Regions from separate parts of the Homo sapiens genome. Here regions 2, 3, 4 and 5 are each linked to region 1. The links are contacts of gene promoters, found by promoter capture Hi-C in blood cells and fetal thymus (Javierre and others, 2016). All regions are on one chromosome and are shown on one strand. The core of a region is centred on a gene start or on the middle of the fragment in contact, and the rest is flanking DNA. Distances in the headings are between cores, read along the strand shown. Region 1 holds the start of VWA5B2 (von Willebrand factor A domain containing 5B2). Region 2 overlaps ABCC5 (ATP binding cassette subfamily C member 5). Region 3 overlaps ABCC5 (ATP binding cassette subfamily C member 5). Region 4 holds the start of HTR3D (5-hydroxytryptamine receptor 3D). Region 5 holds the start of HTR3E (5-hydroxytryptamine receptor 3E).

The links. The method cuts DNA at HindIII sites, captures the fragments that hold promoters and counts their contacts. A CHiCAGO score of 5 or more calls a contact.
Region 2: a fragment that was not itself captured here is called in contact with the fragment with the promoter of VWA5B2 in region 1 in 1 of 17 cell types (M1 macrophages); the score reaches 6.7 in M1 macrophages.
Region 3: a contact is called between a fragment that was not itself captured here and the fragment with the promoter of VWA5B2 in region 1, in 1 of 17 cell types (endothelial precursors). The highest score is 6.9, in endothelial precursors.
Region 4: the fragment with the promoter of HTR3D here is called in contact with the fragment with the promoter of VWA5B2 in region 1 in 4 of 17 cell types (megakaryocytes, endothelial precursors, M1 macrophages and 1 more); the score reaches 6.5 in megakaryocytes.
Region 5: a contact is called between the fragment with the promoter of HTR3E here and the fragment with the promoter of VWA5B2 in region 1, in 9 of 17 cell types (endothelial precursors, M1 macrophages, M0 macrophages and 6 more). The highest score is 11.0, in endothelial precursors.

What each region holds. Positions count from the first base shown.
Region 1 is chr3:184,228,147-184,231,026 of GRCh38, reverse strand. VWA5B2 (von Willebrand factor A domain containing 5B2) reads right to left here and starts at 1,442. Exons shown (of 20, transcript NM_001390846.1): 1 at 1,314-1,442; 2 at 360-647; 3 at 110-280. The coding sequence starts at 498. RefSeq lists a silencer at 1,335-1,674. The HindIII fragment of the contact is 8,832 bases long and covers 1-2,444 here.
Region 2 is chr3:183,990,068-183,992,947 of GRCh38, reverse strand. All of the region lies in intron 2 of ABCC5 (ATP binding cassette subfamily C member 5), which reads left to right. Among named protein-coding and RNA genes, the nearest start is that of ABCC5-AS1, 15 kb to the left of the region's middle. RefSeq lists an enhancer at 2,375-2,875. The HindIII fragment of the contact is 1,078 bases long and covers 957-2,034 here.
Region 3 is chr3:184,012,639-184,015,518 of GRCh38, reverse strand. It overlaps ABCC5 (ATP binding cassette subfamily C member 5), which reads left to right. Exons shown (of 30, transcript NM_005688.4): 2 at 1,072-1,255. The coding sequence starts at 1,127. Among named protein-coding and RNA genes, the nearest start is that of ABCC5, 3.8 kb to the left of the region's middle. The HindIII fragment of the contact is 931 bases long and covers 965-1,895 here.
Region 4 is chr3:184,030,223-184,033,102 of GRCh38, reverse strand. HTR3D (5-hydroxytryptamine receptor 3D) reads right to left here and starts at 1,361. Exons shown (of 8, transcript NM_001145143.1): 1 at 1,296-1,361. The coding sequence starts at 1,361. The HindIII fragment of the contact is 12,637 bases long and covers 1-2,880 here.
Region 5 is chr3:184,095,707-184,098,586 of GRCh38, reverse strand. It overlaps HTR3E (5-hydroxytryptamine receptor 3E), which reads right to left and starts at 1,523. Exons shown (of 9, transcript NM_001256613.2): 1 at 991-1,523. The coding sequence starts at 1,057. The region is part of intron 2 of HTR3E-AS1 (HTR3E antisense RNA 1); the gene reads left to right. The HindIII fragment of the contact is 4,461 bases long and covers 1-1,796 here.

The sequences.
Region 1 (2,880 bases), core at 193-2,692:
ACAAGGCAGTGCCCGGAGGAAGGCGGGGGACGGGCGGAGGCCGAGCGGATGCGGGAGCCTGAGCTGCGCCCGGCTTTCAGGAGCGCGGGTGCGGGCGCGCGGAACTCACCCTGCGCGCAGCGGCGGGGCGTCGGGGTCCCCAGCCCCGGGCCCAGAGCGCGGCAGCAGGCGGCCTGCGAGCGGCGCCGGCTCTGCAGCTGGAAGGAGACGCGCCGTCCGGCGGCCTCGGCCTCGAAGCCGGACACCACCTCGGCCTCGGCCAGCGGGTACACGAACACGCCTGGGGAGGGCGGCGGGAGGCGGCGTCGGACCCTGCCCGGCGCACCCCCCGCCGCGCCCGCGCCCCACCCGGGCCTCACCGTCCACCGGCTGCGGCTGCGGGTTGCGGTAGGTGAGCCGGGCCCGCACGCTGAGGCAGGGGCCGTTGGCGCAGGCCCGGACCCAGGAGTCCGTGAGCGGCAGCGGCGTCCAGCTGGAGGGGCAGTACAGGCCGGGCATGGCGCCGGGAGGCCGGCCCTGCGGGAACGGGCCGGGGAAGCTGGGCGCAGGGTGACGGGACGCCCACCCCGCGCTCCAGAGGCCAGCGCGAGAGTCTCACTCCAGCACCCGGACGGGGCCTGCCGGGGCGCGAGGCCGAGCGGGAGCTCCTGAGGGCGACAGGTGGCGGGGGAGATAAGGGGGCGGCAGGCGTGGTGGCGAGGAGGGCATCCTCACGCGTTACCTGGGCAGCCGGGCCGCGGAGGGTTAATGATTAACGCGCGCTTCGGCGCCCAGCAGTCCCGCCGCGGCTCCCCCGGGGGTGGGGGCGGTCACAGCTGTTCCACCGCCCACTCCCAACCTCGCAGCCACCCCCGTACCTGCCGGCCCCCCGGGGCCCCCCGCGGCCGCCAGCTGTCGGAAGCGGCGCGGGTGGAGATGGAAGATGCTCCGGGAAGGCGGAGGTTTAAAGGGCCCGAATCCCCCCGGAGGCCCCCGGCCCTGCGAGGGATCGCGGGGGCAGGGTGGATGGGGCGCCGAAAGGGCCTTGGTCTTTCTCTCCCTGGTGCCTCATCCGACGGGGGTGCTGGCCGGAGTGGAGGGGTTAAGGGTGGGAAGAACGAGCTGGGAAAGCGAAAAGAGGGGGTCTTTGGGAGGCAAGCCCGGGAGAGGTGTCGGGCCAGGGAGAGTCCGTGGGAGCCGCCAGGTTACCGCTCCCTACCCCGGCAGAGCTGATGTGGGAGGAGGGGGCACCTGCAGTGGCCGCGGCCCGCGCAGGGGATGCCGCGGGCTGGCTCTGGGGATCGCCCCGCTCCCTGTGGCAGTCTCAGCCTCACCGTCGCGCCCTCCGCGGAGTTCTAGGTGCCCACGGGATCCGTGTGGGTGGTGCCGCCTCTGCGCTCCGGGTGGCCCTCGGTCCCGGCACCTGCCGGCCGCCAGTTCGTGACTGTGGCTGCAGCGGCTCTGAGTCCCGGCAGGGGCGCGGGCCCTGCCGGCGGTGGTCCCGCCCCCGTTCCGAGAGGCCGCCCCTCCAGCCTGCCCTGGCCACGCCTGCTGCTGCTGCGGCGGGGCTGGCGCTCCCCCCTCCTTCGGGCGCGGTACCGCCTCCGCGCCAGCCGCGGCAGCCCGAGCCAGACTGGGCACCGCAGTGCAGGGACCGCGTCCCCGCCGCCGCACGGATCCCCGTCACTGCAGGACCGAGGCCTCAGAGACCCCACCCTTTCCATTCTTCAGGAATCAGGCGTCCTGCAAGTGCCACCGACACTGCCGCGACCCCAGCTATCCCATTACCACGACGGCATCCCATTCCCCAGCCCACCCCACCCCCTGCCCTGGGTTGCTTCCCATCGCTGCAGAGACCCTCCCTCCTGACTGCAGCGAACCCCCCAGCCCCCCATCACCGTCACCGCAGGACTCTTCCCCCAAGAAGCTGGCCCCTTTCCTTTGCAAAGTGCTCTTCATCACTGCAGAAAACCTCCCCCATCCCTGCAGGTACTTTTAGTTCATGCAGCCACTTCAGTGACCACTCACTCCAAGCAGGGATTCCTCATCACTGCAGCGACCTCCTCCCACCCCCAAGCAGCCGGCCTTGGCATCGCTGCAGTGCCAACCACTTCTGCTGGGGTGGGAGGGTGTGCACAATAGCGCCCTCAGCCTATAACCCCTTGGTCTCTTCAGCTGTGCGGGCCTTGGGAGTGAAGCCTTCTAGCCTGAAGAGCCTTCTTATGGCTGCAGACCGTCCCCTCATAGCAGTGACCCCCACCCATCACCGCAGCCCTGAAGAGAAAACATCTCTGCTTGTCAGGAGGGCCCCTTGTTATTGGCAGACTTTGCATGTGCTTGACAGTGTTATGCTGTCAAAAAGTAGGAAGGTCCGGAAAACCTCTCCCAGGTCCCCCAAGGAAGAGTCTGAGAGCCCTGGGGAAGTGAGAGGAGATGACCATGTTTGGGGATCATCCATGTAAGCTTTTTGGCAGATGCCATACTGAGATTCTGCAGAGAGAGCTTGAGGAGAGCTGGGGATGGAGGACAGCCAGTAGGAAGTGAGCTTTCGAGTCGGGCCCATGGTTCTCACTCCTCCGCATTAACTCTCTCCTTCTGATTTCAATCACTATCACCAGGGATCATCCCCCCGGGGGATCCCTGCCTCCTTGAGTATCTGAGCCCTCAACCCCAACCATCTCCTTTGCTCACCCTACTTAGCATGGTGGAGAGAGCTTGACCTTTTCCCAGGGAATTTCATGGGTGGAAATGCACAGGAATGATACAGGGAGCACAGACACAGTCACACGTACCCAACACACAGGGAGCTCCAGCTGGGTCCTAGCCCTCTTTCCATACTACCTGGGTCATGGTTCCATTCACCTCTCTCCCCCTTTCTCTACTGAGTCTGTTCTCAGCTTC
Region 2 (2,880 bases), core at 246-2,745, 240 kb after region 1:
TAGGAGTACCTACTTAATATCTTTGATTTTGCCTCTTAGCCCACAAAACTGAAAATATTTACCTCTGGCCTTTTACAGAAAATGTTTGTCAACCCCTAGCTTAAAGCATTGATTTTTCTCTTTTTCTTCTTTTATTTTTTTATTTTTTATTTTTTTTTTGAGACGGAGTCTCGCTCTTTCGCTCAGGCCGGAGTGCAGTGGCGCTATCTTGGCTCACTGCAAGCTCCGCCTCCCAGGTTCACACCGTTCTCCTGCTTCAGCCTCCCGAGTAGCTGGGACTATAGGTGCCTGCCATGGCGCCCAGCTAATTTTTTGTATTTTTTTTTAGTAGAGACGGGGTTTCACCGTGTTAGCCAGGATGGTCTCGATCTCCTGACCTCGTGATCCGCCCACCTTGGCCTCCCAAAGTGCTAGGATTACAGGCGTATATGCTTTGAAAGCGATGAAAATCTCACCTTATTCTCTGTTTTAGCTGCATCCCAGAGATGTTGATGTATTGCAGTTTCATACTGTTTAGCACAGAATATGTTCTGGTTTCCATTTAATGCCTTCTTTTTATTTATTAATTTAAAGAGATAGAGTCTTGTTCTGTTGCCCAGTCTGGAGTGTAGTGGTGAGATCAAAGTTCACTGCAGCCTCAAACTCCTGAGCTCAAGCAATCCTCCCACCTCAGCCTCCTGAGTAGTTGAGATTATATAGGTACAAATTGTCATGCCCGTTTGATGTTTTCTTTCACTTACATTACTTAGAAGTATATTGCATAATTTCTGAACATTCAGATATTTTAAAAATCTTTGTTACTGAACTCTAATTAAATCCTAAAGTGGTCAGAGTGCATGTATACATGATGTCAGTCTTGAGATTTGTTGAGGTTTGCTTTATAGCCCAATGTATAGTCCATTTTGGCAATGTATTTGAAGTGACATTTTTCAGATCTTTTGTCATCTTCTGAAGCTTTGGATATCCAAATAAGGCTGGTCCCTGTAACATTCTGTACCTACTCTGTACAGATTCCCAGTTTCTACTCACTTAAAGTAGGTGTGCTTGTATTTTTAGTGTATCTTTCTCTCTCAATCCAGGAGGTTTTTTCCTTCCCCTTGTGATTATATGCAGCTCATAGGTAAGAAAAACCTTTGTAATGTACTTAAATCTCAGCAGTCCTCAGCTCATTATCAAGTGCCGTAGTCCCTAACCACTAAATTAAGTGTTGACCTTATACATAAGGACTTCATTTAAGAGCGAGTTCGTTCTTGTTGTTGACTCCTGTCATGTTGTACCATTATTCTCTTGAAACTGGTCTGACTTGCCTTTGACAAAAGGAAAGGAGTGTGCTTTGCAGGGCTATGTGCTTTCCTAATACCAGAAGTTATCTAAAGATACTTAACTGTGCTGTGAACTAAAGCTATTGTGTTTGATCTGCCCAGGCATCCAGCTGACTCCTGTATACAAAATTCTACCCGTTCAGTTCTGTTAATGTTTAAGTTCCCGCTGTTCTTTGGTGGGAAAGGAGGTGATGTATAAAAATCAACTGCTTTGTATAAGGCTTGGTGTGTTAGGTGCTAAACCACTTAACTTTTTCTTGATTTGGGGATCTATTCTCCTTGTTTTTTTGTTTGTTTGTTTGTTTTTTGTTTTTTTTTTCCTTCTTTTAGAGACAGAGTCTTGCTCTGTCACCCAGGCTGGAGTGCAGTGGTACGATCATAGCTCATTGCAGCCTCCAACTCCTGGGCTGAAGTCATCCTCCTGCCTCCATCTCCCAAGTAGCTGGTACTGCAGGCACGCATCACCATGCCTGGCTGATTTTTTTTTTTTACTTTTTGTAGAGATGGTGTGTTGCTGTGTTGCCCAGGGTGGTCTTGAACTCCTGAGCTCAACCGATCCTTCCAAAGTGTCAGGATTACAGGCGCGAGCCACCATGCCCAGCTGAGATCTGTTTTTTACTGTTTCACAATAATTGCTGGAAATATTTGTAATAATGTGACTTTCACTGCTAAGACAGAAAAGGAAGATAAGGAAATTGAGGAAAATGAAGCTTCTGCTTCTACAACAGGAAAGCATAAACGTTTGAGTTACTTTTAGAGTAAACGGGGGATAAGTGTGTCTAGATTCTTGACCCACCCTCTTCTGCCACAGTCAGACTTAGAATGCACTTTTGCATGCACTTTTGTTAATCTAATGAACGAACATTTATACACTTTCTAGTTAGTAAATACGTGTAACTTTATATTTCAGCTCATGAGATCCTTTGCTGCGTGCTGCAGGGAAGTGTAGAGCTCTTCAGCTGTGCAGCCAGGATAAGAACTCACGTTCTGTTCTCCCTGCTGCTGCTGTGACAGGGGAGGCACGTGTACATCCAGGCTCTTTCTGTGTGGCAGGGCTGTTTAATTGGGGCTGATGGAAATTTTTGTCATAGGAAATGGGCAATCAGATTTTCAGTTAGTAGTGAAATAATTGACTCTCAATCCATATTGGGAAACAGAAGATAAAACATTTGGTAATAAAAATGTAAATTTTAGAACATAGAACACAAAGAGTGGTCCATAAGCTGGGCGCGGCAGCTCACACCTATAATCCCAACACTTTGGGAGGCTGAGGTGGGCGGATCACGAGGTCAAGAGATCAAGACCATCCTGGCCAACATGGTGAAACCCCGTGTCTACTAAAAATACAAAAATTAGCTGGGCATGGTGGTGCACGCCTGTAACCCCCCTACTCGGAGGCTGAGACATGAGAATTGCTTGAACCGGGGAGGCTGAGATTGCAGTGATCCAAGATCATGCCACTGCACTCCGGCCTGGGCAACAGAGCGAGACTCCATCTCAAAAATAAAATAAAATAAAAACAGGGCCGGGCGCGGTGGCTCATGCCTGTAATCCCAGC
Region 3 (2,880 bases), core at 181-2,680, 220 kb after region 1:
TATAATGGTTAGAATTTTGTGCTGCAGAAGTAGTAGTTTTAAGTCACAGCGATAGCCAGGGATTTATGGAATCCAGAAGGCGACACGGCTACACGTCTTTAATTTCCGTTGGAGGCTAGTATGAAAGGTGTTTTCTCAGCTTGTCTCTGGGAGGCTGTGACCCTTCTTAGAGGGGGGAAACATTTTGGAGAAGTATGTATGTGTTTTTTGTTTTTAAGTGACCTGAGTTGATACAGCATATTGATTAGACTTAGCCAGGCAAGCAGTGGTTTAGAATAGAGTTTCAGGTAAAAACTAGGTAAGACTTAGTAATACAGGGTGGAGAATTTGTTTTTGTTATTGTTTTTTACTAACAGCTTTGTTGCCATAGGATTTATATGACATGAAATTCACTCTTTTAAAGTATAAATTCAGTGTGTTTTTTTTCAATGTATTCACTGCATTGTGCAACCATTACCACTATCTAGTTTTAGAACATTTTCAGTACCCAGGGAATTTGTGTTTGAAGTTAAGTTATAACATTGTTTTAACTGGATAACTTCATGGAGCTTTAAAATAACACCAGCTAACCCATTAGTTAATTATAAAAAGGCAGAGATGGAATATATCATTGGTAGAATAAGTGTTTGGTAAGTTTTTATTTAGTAAAATTTAGTAGAAGAAATGATGTCCACTTTAAAATTGTGGAGTTTTTAATACTTGGGACAAACTGAAATTGTTTCTAGAAAGTCTTTAAAAAAAAAACCAACCTTTCTATTGTATACACTGGATTTGAGCTTAGTTGAAGAGAATGGGTGTCTCTTTACTAGTGTGTTTACTGTTTCTAATTTTTTTTCCCTTAGAGTTGGGAGAAGGTAATTTTTCTTGATTCTCTTATACTGAATCTTTTTCTTTAAAAAAATGAAATCAAAATCTTTGAACTTTTTTTGAAAATTAATTTTTGTAGCTATAACAGTAGAAAGCTTTAGTACTTTTGCCTTTTTTTTTTTTTTCCTATTTTTAAGGCACTTGAGCTTATGGTTAAGTACTGTTTAGGAAATAATCTATTTCTTGATGAATTTTTAATTTCAGGAATTCTGATGTGAAACTAACAGTCTGTGAGCCCTGGAACCTCCACTCAGAGAAGATGAAGGATATCGACATAGGAAAAGAGTATATCATCCCCAGTCCTGGGTATAGAAGTGTGAGGGAGAGAACCAGCACTTCTGGGACGCACAGAGACCGTGAAGATTCCAAGTTCAGGAGAACTCGACCGGTCAGTTTCCTTTCCTAAGAGTCTCTTACCTGCTTGTTGTACTAAAACACATCTTTTTTCGTATAATGGGTAATTTAGAAACTTATTTTTTGGCCGGGCGCGGTGGCTCACGCCTATAAACCCAGCACTTTGGGAGGCTGAGGCGGGTGGATCATCTGAGGTCAGGAGTTCGAGACCAGCCTGACCAACATGGTGAAAACCTGTCTCTACTAAAAGTACAAAAATTAGCCAGGCGTGGTGGCGGGCGCCTATAATCCCAGATACTTGCGAGGCTGAGGCACGAGAATCGCTTGAACCCAAGAGGCGGAGGTTGCAGTGAGCTGGGATCATGCCACTGCACTCCAGCCTGGGCGATAGAGCGAGACTCAGTCTCAAAAAAAAATGTGTTTTTCTTTATTGGCTTTAGGTTACTGTTAAGAATTTATGGTTATTGATAAGTCTCTGGTCCATAGTAAGCACTCAATAAGTGGAAGAGAGGCTGGCTGTCACCCTCTCACCCGGTCTGTTCTGAGCATTCTCCTCTTTTTCACTTTTATTCTATGTTGGTGCCTTCTGAAAAGGCTATACTTAACAGAAGACAACTTATTGAGGGGGAGGGGGTCATGGGGTCAATGACAGGGAATATAAAGCCAATTAAGCTTCATTCATGTACCTAAACAAAATTGGTGTTTTCTTCTACTTTCTGTCATGTGTGTTTAAAATGTGAACCTGGCCAGGCACAGTGGCTCATGCTTGTAATCCCAGCACTTTGGGAGGTTGAGGTGGGTGGGTCACTTGAGGTCAGGAGTTTGAGACCAGCCTGGCCAACACGGTGAAACCCTGTCTCTGCTAAAAATACAAAAATTAGTGAGGTGTGGTGGTGGGCACCTGTACTCCCAGCTACTCAGGAGGGAGGCAGGAGAATTGCTTGAATCCAGGAGGCAGAGGTTGCAGTGAGCCAAGATCACGCCACTGCACTCCAGCCTGGGCAACAGAGTGAGACTCCGTCTCCAAAAAAATAAAAAATAAAATAAAATGTGAATCCTTTGGAGAGACTCAGATTTCAGAACAATTCTAGATAGTTGTGGGATTATCAGTATGTTTTTCAAGCGAATTCATAAGTTAAGCAGTCTTTAGATAATAATCTAATTTCCTCCAAGGGAAATAATGAAGATGCGTTTTTACCTCGAGAAAATATTCTTTTTCCTGAGGAAAAAAAGCATTATACCTTTTCTTACAAAAGTACCTAATAAGGCAGAATGGACTAGGTTTAGGAAGTTGAGGTTTTTGTTGGTGTATTTGTTATGTGAAAATTTGAGAAAGATAATGGACTTTGCAGCTGACACTGGCCTTTCCTTAGCCTGATACTACCTTTCCCTCTTTGGTTGTGTTAAAGCCATTGCTTTATTAATGAACATTTTCTTGCTAATGAGTCTTTTCTGTACCCTACTGTGTATTATAGAATGCTTTTCCATTCAGGTTTAACTTCAGAGAAACAGGCTTAATGTAATCAGTGTCAAATGCTTCTCGTGGTGCCAGTTTTATAACTTCCTCATGTCCTTTTGTCTAGACCTTATGTTGATTAAACATCTATCCATTACATCTGAGTGCTAGACACATTTAGTGTAACAGTTAAGTCTGGAAAA
Region 4 (2,880 bases), core at 112-2,611, 200 kb after region 1:
CTGCTCACCACTAGACCACTGCAATGTTGGGTGAGGACTTACAACTTCCAGATGGCAGACAAGGTGAAGGAGATGTTGACATGAGTGGCGACACTGTAGTTGGTGACTGGACCAATAGCCTTTCTGTCAAACACTGCTTGAAAGGCTGCAGGGTCCACCCTGTGCTGGCCAAAGCCTGGGCAATTGATAATCAAAGTGTCGCCATTTCCTGTAGTGAGCAGAGACTGAGAGAGGAGGGCCAGGGCTGGGGGGCCTGGAGAGTGTTTCTGCATGGAGAGAAAACAGGGGGCACTGGGAGAAGCATGTGAGCTCCTCCTTCCTGGTCCAGGAAGAGTAGGCTGAGCTGGTAGGCAAATGGTGGAAACTGATGAGGTGAGCTGAGTCAAGGATCCATCCTCAGTGCCATTGTTTTGTCCCCATGCAAAACCTGTCCAGATGTGTATGCAAACTCAACCCCGACCGCCACTTTACAGTGTCCTGCCATGTCCTTAACAATCTCACTGCAACCTCTCCACCTTCTGCCAGTGTCCTTCTCTTGCTTACCTCCAACCTGGAGCCATGTGGGTGATGTCAGTGACAAATTTTGCACTCACAGTTCTCCGCCTCGCTGTATTAATATGGCATAGATGCTAATAAATTAATGATAAGGGGAGTAATCAGATAGGTAGTGTGAGATATATGGGATCTTAAGGAAACAAATCAATTTCAGTTTTTCAATTTGATGAGTATTTACTGTGTCTTTACTATGTGCTGTGATTGTTCTAACATTTAGTAGTCTTCATCACTAGGATTATCTTAAAGAGTTCCCAGGCTGGGCTCAGGGGCTCACGCCTGTAATCCCAACACTTTGGGAGGCCCACGCGGGCAGATCACCTGAGGACAGGCATTCAAGACCAGCCTGGCCAACATGGTGAAACCCCATCTCTACTAAAAATACAAAAATTAGCCAGGCACGGTGGCAGGTGCCTGTAATCCCAGCTACTTGGGAGGCTGAGGCATGAGATCGTTTGAACCTGGGAGGTGAAGGTTGCAATGGGCTGAGATATTGCCACTGCACTCTAGCCTGGGTAACAGAGCGAGACTCCATCTCAAAAAAAAAAAAAAAAAGAAGAGAAAAGAGTTAACTAAATATTAGGATCCTAGGAAGAGGTACAAAGCCATCAGTGTCACGAGCATCATTTTTACCATAACGAACATCCAATCATTGACTATCTCAGAATAAAAAATATTAGCCTGTTTTCTCTGCTTCCCAGGAGTTACATGTCTGCTCAGCTCTTGCTCTTATCTTAAGGTACTTGCAGCAGCAGGTGGAGGATGAAGCCAAGGAGGAATCCTTTCCCATGGAACCAGCCTCTTTCCATCTTCCTCTCTTTGGCACTTCTCTGGGTACTTGATGATGATGTTAACCTTTAAAAAACCTCAGATCACACCTTGAGCCCTACCTTTGAATAATATATATATCAGCTGGCATTAACCGCCTCTCTAACAAGACCCCTTGGTGACAAAAGAATGTCACAGAGGAATAACTCACCCTGTGCTTTAACTGGGCCTGAATCTAGCCTCCAAAAGTAATATGGCAAATCAGTTTGGAGAAGAGGAAGCAAAAATATGTGGTCCCTGGAGCAGTGCTAATGGCTTCCTCATACTTTAAAGTCACTCTGGCGTACAGTGCCTCACCGAGAAGGCATGGATGACTACCACTGCCTCCAGGTGGCACGTGAACTTGTTAGACCCTGCTGTCATCTTTCTTTCTTTTCTTTTCCTTTCTTCTTTCTTTCTTTCTTTTCTCTTTCTTTTTCTTTCTTTCTCTTTCTTTCTCTTTCTCTTTTTCTTTCTTTTTTCTTTCTTTCCTTCTCTCTCTCTCTCTCTCTCTCTCCCTCCCTCCCTCTCTCTCTCTTTCTCCCTCCCTCCCTCCCTTCCTTTTTTTTTTTTGCGACGGAGTCTCCCTCTGTCTCCCAGGCTGGAGTGCAATGGTGCAGTCTTGGCTCACTGCAACCTCCGCCTCCCGGGTTCAATCGATTCTCCTGCCTCAGCCTCCCAAGTAGCTGTGATTACAGGCGCCTGCCACCATGCCTGGCTAAGTTTTTGTATTTTTAGTAGAGACGAGGTTTTACCATGTTGGTTGGCTGGCCTCAAACTCCTGACCTCAGGTGATCTGCCCACCTTGGCTCCCAAAGTGCTGGAATTACAAGCGTGAGCTACCATGCCCGGCCCCCTACTGCCATCTTTCAAAAAAGAAAGCGTGTTGGGGGGAGGGGGGTCCCTATTAATATAAGCAACTTCATACACTGAGGTTTTAAACATGACTTCAGTATAGTTAAGACTTTAAAGTATGAGGAAGCCATTAGCACTGCTCCAGTGATGACATATTTCTGCTTCCTCTTCTCAAAGCTGATTTGCTATGCCTTTTTAGTGTTTCAAAAGCAATCTGGACCCAGGTCTACCCAATGAAGGGAGTGATTAGTGGAGTAGGGGGTGGTGGCAGAGGTAATACTTTTTTAAAATAAAAGCTGACTTATGATTTTTTTTTTTAAATGGAGTTTCTCTCTTGCTGCCCAGGCTGGAGTGCAATGGCGCGATCTTGGCCCACCACAACCTCTGCCTCCCGGGTTCAAGCGATTATCCTGCCTCAGCCTCCCGAGTAGCTGGAATTACAGGCATGCACCACAAAGCCCAGATAATTTTTTTTTCATTTTTTTATTATACTTTAAGTTCTAGGGTACATGTGCACAACGTGCAGGTTTGTTACATATGTATACATGTGCCATGTTGGTGTGCTGCACCCATTAACTCGTCATTTACATTAGGTATATCTCCTATTGCTATCCCTCCCCGCTCCCCCCACCCCATGACAGGCCCCAGTGTGTAATGTTCCCCACC
Region 5 (2,880 bases), core at 274-2,773, 130 kb after region 1:
CAGTGAATATTCATTTGTCAACCCCTGTGTGCAAGTGCCCAGAGGAGCTTTCATAACCATTTACACTGCCTAGACCAGGTGTACAATTTGTGTCTCTTCCCTGTGCTGGCCTTTAAAGTCACCTCTGGTTCAGTCCTCTCCTGTGCCTCCTTATCCAAAGTCATGGAATAATCTAACGAGGAGAGATGACAGTTATTGGCACTTTTACCAAGTGCCAGACACTGTGCTTCCCTCCTTCTCTTACTGAATCCTCACAACCCTGCAAGGTAGGTTCTGTTTTACAGATGAGGAAACCAGAGCTCAGATAAGTTAAGCAGTGCATCCAAGTTTATAAAACTAGCAACGTGAGACACCAAGATTCAAACCCAGGTCCACCTGTCTCCAAATCCCATGTTCTTGTCTCTCTACCATGCTGACCCCCTGGAAGAGAAGCACATTCTACTTTCACCCTTGACCTGCTGCCTTCTGGCACCTTACCTAACCTAGAGCCCTTGGATCCAGCAGATGGACAGGGAAATTATGGCTAAAGGAGGTGGGCACTTTGCTACAATGGTTTGGGTTTCATACCTGTAGAGAGAAAGAATTACACCTGTGGATAGAAAGATGGATGGATATAGAAGCTAAATACAAGAGAAGACGATCGTGGATGGTTGTCTTCCATGTAGGGTACCAATGGAGAAAAGACAGACTTTTCAAGTAGTATTGGGAAAACTGGATATCCATATGTGAAAGGATAAAGTTTGCTGGTGTTGAACTCTATTTTTCGAGAAGGAAAATGAAAGTGCTCTTGTTTGGCATGTAACTGGAAGGGGATTTTCCGTCTTTCAGAAAAGGAAAGTCTATGTGGGCATCTTAGTAATGTAGCTATGAAAGAACTCTATCCATCTTAGACAATCTCTAGGAGTTGGAAATTTGAAAAAAGTTCCTAGATGTTCTACTAGAGAGAGGTCCTCCTTCTTCCGCCTTCCCCCATCATTGCTCCTTTCTTACCTTGAAGCAGAAAACCGAGAAGGAGGTAGAAGGAAAATCTTTTCCTGTGGAACCAGCTTCCTTCCATCTTCTTTGTCTAAGTTCTTCTCTGAACATGTACTGGGACCCAGGAATGCCCAGATTAAAGCAGCACAGGCCACACCTAGAGTCTGACTTTGAATACTAATAGCATTGGTTGACCACTGACATTTGTAACCTTCCTTCAAAGAGTGTTCTGGTTGTCTTGTTCTTGCCTATGCTTAAGGTTCAGTCTGCTTTTAAGACTTTATCTTAGTCTTAGGTATTTCACTGCAACGTAAATGGTTATAGATAGTTCATACGTGATCAACTTGCAGATCTTGGTGAGATCCCTTGGTCTGAAGACTCATCTCTTCAATTTTGGAAAATTCTCAGACATTTATAAATGTTTCACTTCCTCTATTTTTCTTATTAGACATGTGTTGAATGGTTTCCTTCTATCTTACATGCCTTTTATTGCTGTTGTAACAAATCACAAACCCAGTGGCTTAAATAAACACAATTTGTTATTTTACTGTTCTGTGGGCCAGAAGTTTGAAATGGGTCTCACTGGGCTAAAATGAATGTGTCAGCAGGACCGCATTCCCTCTGGAGGCTCTAGAGGAGAATCCATTTCCTTGCCTTTTCCAGATTTTTTTTTTTTTGAGACAGGGTTTCACTCTGTTGACCAGGCTGGAGTGCAGTGGCGCAATCGCGACTCACTGCAGCCTTGACCTCCTGGGCTCAAGGGATCTTTCCGTCTCAGCCTCCCAAGTAGCTGGGACCTCACAGGTGTGAGCCACCAAGCTTGGCTATTTTTTTTTTTTTTAGTAGAAATGAGGTCTCGCTTTGTTGCCTAGGCTTGTCTCCAACTCCTGGCCTCAAGTGATCCTCCAACCTTGATCTCCCAAAGTGCTGGGATTATAGACATGAGCCATTGTACCCGGCCTTTTCCAGCTTTTAAACTGCCTGTATTTCTTGGTTCATTATTTTTACTTCTCCATCTTCAAAACCAGCAACATCAGGCCAATGTTTCTCACAAGGCATCTCATCTCTCTGGTTCTTATTTGTTTCTCTCTCCTTCTTCCACTTATAAGAGCCTTTGTGATTGCATTGTGTCCATTTGGATAATCCAGGATAGTCTCCCCATCTCAAAGTCCGATAATTAACAACCTTAATTCCATCTGCAACCTTAACTCCCCTTTTCCATATAACCTAAGGTTCCAGAGATTAGGATGTGGACAAATTCTGGGGGCCGTTATTCTGCCTAGCACACCTCTCTTTCCTATTTTCTACCTCTTTATCTCTGTCCCTAATGATTTCTTCAGATCTAGCTTCCAGGAAAAAAATTCTCTCCTCAACTGTGTTTATTTTAATTAATTAATTAATTAATTTTTGATGAAACTCAGTAATTTTTATTGCAACTGGAAGACAATACATTGCAGAAACTTTATGGTAGGTCTGGGGAAAAGTGTTATTTACAATAGATTATGACATAATTTGTCTTTGACAATATGATTACATACGAAGAATGCAAAATGCAAGTATGGATGCCTTCCATATTTTATTTTATTTTGAGATGGAGTCTCATTCTGTTGCCCAGGCTAGAGTGCAGTGGCGTGATCTTGGCTCACTACAGCCTCCACCTCCTTGATTTGAGCGATTCTCCTGTCTCAGCCTCCTGAGTAGTTGGGACTACAGGCTTGTGCCACCACACCCAGCTAATTTTTGTATTTTTATTAGAGACAGGGTTTCACCATGTTGTCCAGGCTGGTCTTGAACTCCTCACCTCAGCTGATCTGCCCACCTCGGCCTTCCAAAGTGCTGGGATTACAGGAGTGAGCCACTGTGCTTGACCCTCAACTGTGTCTAATCTGTCCATCTAATCTGCCC